Linked DNA regions of Homo sapiens: region 2 is linked to region 1. The links are contacts of gene promoters, found by promoter capture Hi-C in blood cells and fetal thymus (Javierre and others, 2016). All regions are on one chromosome and are shown on one strand. The core of a region is centred on a gene start or on the middle of the fragment in contact, and the rest is flanking DNA. Distances in the headings are between cores, read along the strand shown.

Region 1 (4,227 bases), core at 1,590-4,089:
GGATGGGTGGGAGCTTGCCAGCTGTAGAGGTGTGTGCAAAAATGGAGAGTCATGAAAGGGCACAGGTGTTGGGGAATGATGAGCTAATCACATGGGTGGGGCCTTATGGCGTCCATGATGGAAGTGGTACAGGAACAGGTGGGAAATGTGGCTAGACATGGAGCAGAAAAGCCAATGTGTGAAAGGCCTGATAGAAGAAGCTAATGACTTTATTTTGTGGGGAATGAAAAGTCAGTAAACACTTTTAAATTAGGGAGTCACCCACCATTTCTAACCTAGAATTTTATAAAGTGACACATCTTCCCAGACTATCTTATGGCCTCAGCCAAAGGGCTGATGCATGCAATTATATAAAGCAGGGGCCAGATGCACATCTCACAAGACATTAGGAAGTATGAATCAGAAAAATGAACACAGGTGTTTTCCCTTAATATTGTATTCAGGATGGAAAAAGTCATTAACTTATCCTGCAGACGCTGAAGGGCTCAAGGTAAATATTTAAAATGTTCTCCCTCTCATTTCCACAGAGCCAAGAACATCAGAGGTGGGATGATGATGCTTGTGGCTATGAGACAGGATTTCAAGGATCCTGATGAAACGTCTGCTGGCCTGAATCTGTCTGAATGCTGAAAAGGACTTTGTGTTACTCTAACTGAAAGGAAAACATAAAATGATGATAATGTAGCCCTTTATGGTTTTCAGATCCCTTTCACATACATTATCTCATTTAAGCTTTGTGACAATGGTGTGCAGCAGATAGGGCTAAGAGTACAGTCAATCTCATTTTAGAGATGAAGAAATAGAGTTCTGAGAGTTTCATACCTTCCCCGGGTCCAAGAAATTATTCCCAAAGCTGCAACTGGGTTTCTAGACATGCTACCAGCACCTTCCCCAAACCCAAGGGAGCGTTCTGCCTACCTGCTGCCTTCCATATGCCAGGATGGCTTCTTTGAGGTCTTGAAGTGTGTGCAGTTCAAGATCCAGCTTCCTCCAGGGACCTCTGGGGCAGTAGGGGCCTTTTCTCCTCTCTTTGGGTGTCCATGCCGAAATGGCAAAACCTTCTGAGTACAGGATCAGGGCACCCTTTCTAGTACTGAAAGTTTTAGGGAGAAAGAGGCTCCAGGAGTGCTGACTGGCATTGTTCTTATCTTGAGGTTTGCTGACAGGAACATAGTCTTCTGGGGACCTCCAGTTCAAGTAATCCTGCAATGAGAAGCAGCCACTTTGACGGAGCCACTGTGGAAGACCTTTCTATAGCAAATACTGCTTGTGCAAAGCCTTCGGCATTTTTTTAGTTACTGATTTTCTCTGAACTGTTCACATGGTGTTATGGAACACAATTGCTCTTCTTAGCAACTGCCTTTTCTCTCCACATTTCAAAATTAGTAGAACCCAGGGCATGGTTCTATTTCACCCCATACAACTTTCAGGAGAGTCATGTATGGCTGGAGGATTAACTCAGCTTGTATGTAGGTTACAGGCCAGTTAAAGTTTCCTGGTATGCAAGTAAGTGGTCAGAATTATTAAGGGCAGCAGATAACTTTGAAATTAGACCTGGACTAGCTGGCAGTTTAAATAGGAGCATTCCAAGCCACCACCACTTCAGCTGTACGTGGGGAGAATTTCTATACATTCCAGATGCTATGTAACATTACCTAATTTGGCTATTTAGGGGCCTATAAAGCAGTTACATATCTTGTAGGTAAGAAAATGCCATTGGCCATACAGGTCCTTTGAAACTTTATATGCCGTTTAACACAGCAAAGGTCAAATATCATGACAAAGTACCATGACAATGGAAATCTCTGTATGACCCCCAAATTTGCAAAGTATCCCCAATAGGTTTCTTATCCCTGGCAGGATTCAAGTGAAATAAAAATCTAGTATAACAAGGGAATTTTGCCACCTCTTTAAAATCTTCTAAAATGAGGTGGGTTTTTTTTTGGCCTATATTAAATATGAGTCCTGTGGGTTGAATTCCAGAAAGTTCAAGGAAGCCATTGAAATGGCATGAACACACACAGCATTTCAACTGCAGAGCACGACTTCCAAAAACCAAACAACCATCAGTTTGCCTAGAACCCAGGTGGAAATTCTGGTCTTGCACCAAACCATCCAAATTCCAGACAATCTGGAATCTCCTTTGGTCCAAGCAAAGACAGCTACAAGGGGAAAGATGAGGGCCTCAGGGGCAATCTCGGTGTGTCAGGAAAATGATGTTATTTTCTTGAGTTTCATGAAGGAGGAAGGAAGATCTTCCAGTGACCCCGCCACCTCACTAACAACACAAACCAAGACACACATGGTTTACCTCCCAAGTGGAAACATAGAGCATTCCTCTCCCACCTCCAAAATGTGCCTTTCTTCAGCTGTGGGACTCACCTCTGGTTCAAAGTAGACTTCTAACTTCTGTTTGTCCTGGCCCAGCTTCCCGTGGCCCCGGCTCAGGAGGGAGAGCGTGAACATGTTTCCCTCTGACCACCCCTTCTCAAGGGCAGTCCATCTTGGTTTTGAAGGCTGAAATCTGGTCACACCTCAAGATTTCCAGAGCTCACAGCAAGCCCAAGAAGACCACAAACACAGGGCCTTTTATTAAATACATTTTTCCCTCTCGCAGCAGCTTCTTAGTAACAACCAGCCACACAGTTTAGACAGTGTGTGTCTTTGTGGAGAGAAAAAATAAACCGCACAGCCAGCCTCCTCAAGCCCTGGATTGTCTACTCTCTGGGCGACCTGTCTCTCCCCTTCTCCTGAGCTCTTGTTGTCCCTTGGTCCCGGTTGCTCTGTTACCAGCCGTGTGCATCTACAGATCTCGGCCACAGCACCATCCTTCTTGTCTGAGCGGAGGTTGTTTCCTGGTTGCTATGGCAGCACAGGGAAATGAAGTCCCTTAAACTAACCCAGGCAAGGCAGAGACGGGTGCCGGGTGCAGTGTGCATTCCCCGGGGATGGGGGTGGGGGTCAAATGGACACTGAAGGGACCAGGCTCAGGTTGCAAGTCCCAGTTGCATGGGGTGGGGGACTTGTTGGGGTACTTTTTCTGTTATTGTTCTCATCTTGTTTTTAGAGAGCGTCTTCCCCTCTCTCCTGATATGTGAGCCTGTCACTGTCAACTAACCATTAACAGAGCCAGGGTGTAATCTAGGTCACCTAAAACCACCTGTGACTTTTTCCTTGGCTGAGCTCCATCATCCCCTCAACTGGACACGAGACCTCATTATGGTAGTTGCTGCTTTGCCTGAGCGGGAGACACTGGGATTCTCTAGCTTCCTTTGCATACCTGGTTCTCAACTGGGCAAGCTATCCCCTGATGGGGGTGCTCTGGAAATGTGGGTGGGGGACATTTTGGTTGTTGCAATGATTGGGGGTCTTGCTGGCATTGATCAAGCAGAGGCCCCAGATGCTAAATGTTCTACATGGTGTGAAATTCCCACATAGTGATGAACTGTCCCACTAGAATGCCAGGAGCACCTGCTTTGAGAAGCACTGTGTAGCCTGGGATGCTTGGGTCTCTTTAACAGTGACATTGTGACGAGCACAGACAGGAGGGAAGAGGGTCAGGAAACAAAAAGACCCCTTTGCTGGGGATCTAGGAACCTGCTCAAGCCTGGAAAAGCAAGCTGCCTGTTAGCTGTCAGCTGAACTACCCTGGCAGTCTTGTGGGAGTGCCCACTGCTGGCCTATATGAAGAAGCACAACAGGCTACAAGCCCACTTACCTTTTTGATCTTCCTATGTGGCACTTTCCCCTCCCCCTCTGACCCCTCCACCCCCAACCAAGTTCAAGTCTCCTGAGAAAGAAATAGAGGTTCTGTTGTAAAATAAAATAGGGTTTATTAGGGGGAATCAAGACAGCGAATGAGTGAATGCAGAGGCTCCAAACAGAATTTAATCAAAACCACAATGAGATACCACTTCACACCTACTAAGATGGCTATTATTAAAAAACAAAAACAAAAACAGAAAATAACAAGTATTTGGTGAAGATACGGAGAAATTGAAAACCTTGTGCATTGCTGTTGGAAATGCAAAATGGCGCAGCCTCTGTAGGAAATGGTATGACAGTTTCTAAGAAAATTAAACAGAATTACCGTATCACCAGTAATTCCACTTCTGGGTCTGTATACCTAAAGGAGGTGAAAGCAGGGTCTCAAAGAGATATTTGTATACTCATATGCAGAGCAAAACTGTTTATAAGAGCCAAAAGGTGGAAGTAACTCAAGTGTCC
Region 2 (3,991 bases), core at 97-2,596, 100 kb before region 1:
TTCAAGCAATTCTCCTGCCTCAGCCTCCCAAGTAGCTGGGATTACAGGTGTACGCCACCATGCTCAGCTTATTTTTGTATTTTTACTACAGACAGGGTTTCACCATGTTGGCCAGGCTGGTCTCAAATTCCTGAACTCAAGTGATCTGCCTGCCTTGGCCTCCCAAAGTGCTGGGATTACAGGCATGAGCCACTGTGCCCAGCCTAAGTCATGCATTTTCTAAAGAAATCAAACATTTAAGACACAGTCCAAGACTTCATTTATCACATGCTACTATGGTGTGAATGTTATCGTCTCCTTCAAAATTTGTGTGTTGGAAACTCAATCAATATTCAATGCAGCAGTGTTGGGAGGTGGGGCTTAATAAAAAGTGTTTAGGTCATGGAGGGCTCCATCCTCATGAATGGATTAATGCTGCTATAAAAAGGGTTTGTGGGCTGGGCACAGTGATGCACACCTGTAGTCTCAGCTACTCGGGACACTGAGGCTGTGGATAGTGTGAGTCCAGGAATTCAGGTTGAGCCTGGGCAACATAGAGAGACCCCATCTCTAAAAAAAGAAAAAGGGCTTGTGGGAATGAGTTCCCTCTCTTTTGCCTTTTTGCCTCCCACCACGTGAGGACACAGTAAGAAACCTGCATCTTGATCTTGGGCTTCTCAGCCTCCAGAACTGTGGGAGACTGTTCTGTTCTTCATAAATTACCCAATCTCAGGCATTCTGTTATAGCATCACAAAATGGATTAAGACACATATAATCCCATTTCCCTCTCCCTCCCAGAGGTAATCAGTCTCTTCAATTTGATATTCATCAATCCTCATATATATTTTTATATCTGTATTACATATACATGCACATGTAAACAATATATAGTATTTTTTACAAATTAAAACTTTACATAAATGATATTATTTATGTAACTTGTTCAACTTGCCTTATTTTGCTTAATAAGGCAAAAAACCCTTAATAAGTCTTTTGGGATTAACCCATATTAATACATGTAATTTTATTTTCAGCTATCATATAGTATTCCGTTGTATAAATATGTGACCATTTAAAAATCCATTTTACTATTGGTGGCCATTTTGATTATTTCCAATTGTTTATGATTATTAATAATGTTTCAATGAACCTTTTTAGGTGAGTCACTGTTCATACATGCTTTCTCTAAAGGATACCTGGGAATGAACTTGTTGGGATGCAGGATATATGCATCTTCAATTTATTGAATATTTTCAAATTGCTCTAAATTACTAAAACTTTATATCCTCATTAATAGTGTTTATAGACTTTTAAACTTTTGCTGGTCTGATATATATGAAATGATATCTTTTTGTTTTAACTGGGATTTTCCTGATTAGTAAGGAGAACTTTTTTTTCTCTATGGCCATTTATTTGTGTTTCTTCTTCTGTTAGTTGCCTGTTCACATCATTTGCTCATTTTTCCTTTGGGTTGATTGTCTTTTTCTTTCCCTATTTGTAGAGGGAAGAAATGCTGCTGCATTTTGGTTACTAATGCTTTGTTGGTTACATGCATTGCAGGTATCTCCTTCTAATCTGCAATTTGGCTTTTAACTTCATGTTGTCTTGTTGAAAACTTCAAACTTTAATATAGTCAGATTCATTGGCGGGGCACAGTGGCTCACACCTGTAATCCCAGCACTTTGGGAGGCCAAGGCAGGCTGATCACTTGAGTTCAGGAATTTGAGACCAGCCTGGCCAACATGGTGAAACCCTGTCTCTACTAAAAATACAAAAATTAGCCGGGCCTGGTGGCACACACCTGTAATCCCAGCTACTTGGAAGGCTGAGGCAGCAGAATCGCTTGAACCCAGGGGACAGAGGTTGCAGTGAGCCAAGATCATGCCATTGCACTTTCTGGGCAATAGAGCGAGACTCCGTCCCAAAAAAAAAAAAAAGATTTATCAATAATTTTCTTTATGGTTTGTGTTATGAATAATAGGTAAAAAGTTTTTTCCTTTCCAAAATTCATAAAAATATTCTGCTATATTTTCCTCTAAAAGTTAAATTTTGCTTTTTGACATTAAGCTCCTGAATACACCTGATATTTTGTGAGGTGAGAATTTTAAAATTGCATAACCAGTTGTCTCAAAATTATATAGTGAATAATAGATCATCCTTTCTCCACTATTTCCCTTTATAATGCCATTGCCATATATCAAGTTTCCATATGTGGGCACATTTATTTCTGGATTCTCTATTCTCTTCTGTCTGTCTCTAAGCCAATAGCACACAGTTTTATTTTTTACAGCTTTAAAATAAGTTTTTATATTTGTCAGGGCAAACTTCCACTTTATTTTTTTTCAAAATTATACTGGCTAATATCTTAGTCTGTTCAGGCTGCTATAACAAAATACCATAAACTGGGTAGCTTAGAAACAACAGAAATTTATTTCTTGTGGGTCTAGAGGCTGGAAAGTTCAAGATCAAGGTGCTGGAACATTCAGTGTCTGGGGACATTCAGTGTCTGGGGAAGTCTCACTTTCTGGTTCATGGAGGGCACCTTCTTTTGTGTCCTCACATGATAAAAGGGGCAAGATAGCTCTCTGGGGCCTCTTTTGTAAAGGCACTAATCTCATTTATGAGGGCTCTGCCCTCATGACTTAATCACCTCCCAGAGGCCCAACCTCCAAATACCTTTACATTGGTGATGAGGTTTCAGCATGTGAATTTTTGGGGGACACAAACATTCAGACCATGACAACTATTTCTGGCTTTTCTATATGAATTTTAATATCAGCTAATCATGTTCTGCCAAAAACCCTGTTGGGGATTTTTAAAATTGAAATTGCACTGAATTTATAGACTGCCAAAAGGAAAAACCAAACCAAACCGGAATCTGATCAAGTTTCTAGACCCAAGTGTTAACTTACAGGACATGTGGAAGACAGAGAAACATGTTAAACTACACTATGAGGACGCAATCAGCAAAGTCTAGATTGAAACTCAACAAGACAAGTGACCCAATTTCCTACAAATACACTAAAAGGGGGAAAAAAAAGAAATGGAAGGGAACTTATAAATTCAATGAGATTTAAAGGTCATATCAACCAATTGTAAACAGTTGGTTTGCAAATTCCAAAACAATTATAATAATTATGGGACAATTTGAACTTTGAAAACTGACTGAATATTCAATTATATTAAAGAATTATTTAAATTTTGGGTGTAATAATGGTATCATGATTATGTTAAAAGTCATTTCTCGGTGCAGCGCACCAGCATGGCACATGTATACATATGTAACTAACCTGCACATTGTGCACATGTACCCTAAAACTTAAAGTATAATAATAATAAAAAAAGTCATTTCTCATCTTTGAGAGATATGTTCTCAAGTATATATGAATAAAATGATATGAGCCTAAAATTTGTTTCAAAATAACATGGGAGAGAGAAAGGAGTTGGAGATACAGGTGAACAACACTGGCCAAGAGATGGGTATATGGGATTCACTGTGCTGCTCTGTTCACTTCTGTGTATGTTTGCAGTTTTCCATAATAACAATTCCTTTTAAATTCTATTTTTAAATTGTGCTTTATGTTTTCAAACACTATTTTTTACACAATTGATTTCTGTGTATTGATCTGTATTTAGTAATCTTGCTGAATTCTTTTGTCTTTTAATGTCTTGTCTGTAGAGTCCCTTGAATTTTCCATATAAGTAATAATATAGTCTGGAAATAATACCAGTGTCATTTTCCTCCTTCCTATCCTTTCATCTTTCCTTTTTTTGGTTTCTTTACCGTTCTGGCTAGCATTGCTAGTACAATGTTGAATAGAATCACTGATAGAGGACATCCTTGTCCTAGTCCTGTCTCTAAAGAGAATGCTTCTTGGCCAGGCGCAGTGCCGCATGCCTGTAATCCCAGCACTTTGGGAGGCCCAGGAGGGTGGATCACCTGGGGTCAGGAGTTCGAGACCAGCCTGACTAACATGGTGAAGCTCCATCTCTACTAAATACAAAAAATTA

What was found. Contacts are between HindIII fragments. The CHiCAGO score rates a contact against its expected background, and 5 or more counts as called.
Region 2: a fragment that was not itself captured here is called in contact with the fragment with the promoter of KIAA2012 in region 1 in 1 of 17 cell types (M2 macrophages); the score reaches 5.4 in M2 macrophages.

The regions. Positions count from the first base shown.
Region 1 is chr2:202,071,867-202,076,093 of GRCh38, reverse strand. KIAA2012 reads right to left here and starts at 2,839. Exons shown (of 24, transcript NM_001277372.4): 1 at 2,383-2,839; 2 at 919-1,203. The coding sequence starts at 2,466. The HindIII fragment of the contact is 5,257 bases long and covers 735-4,227 here.
Region 2 is chr2:202,174,130-202,178,120 of GRCh38, reverse strand. All of the region lies in intron 15 of KIAA2012, which reads right to left. Among named protein-coding and RNA genes, the nearest start is that of KIAA2012-AS1, 59 kb to the right of the region's middle. The HindIII fragment of the contact is 6,218 bases long and covers 1-3,991 here.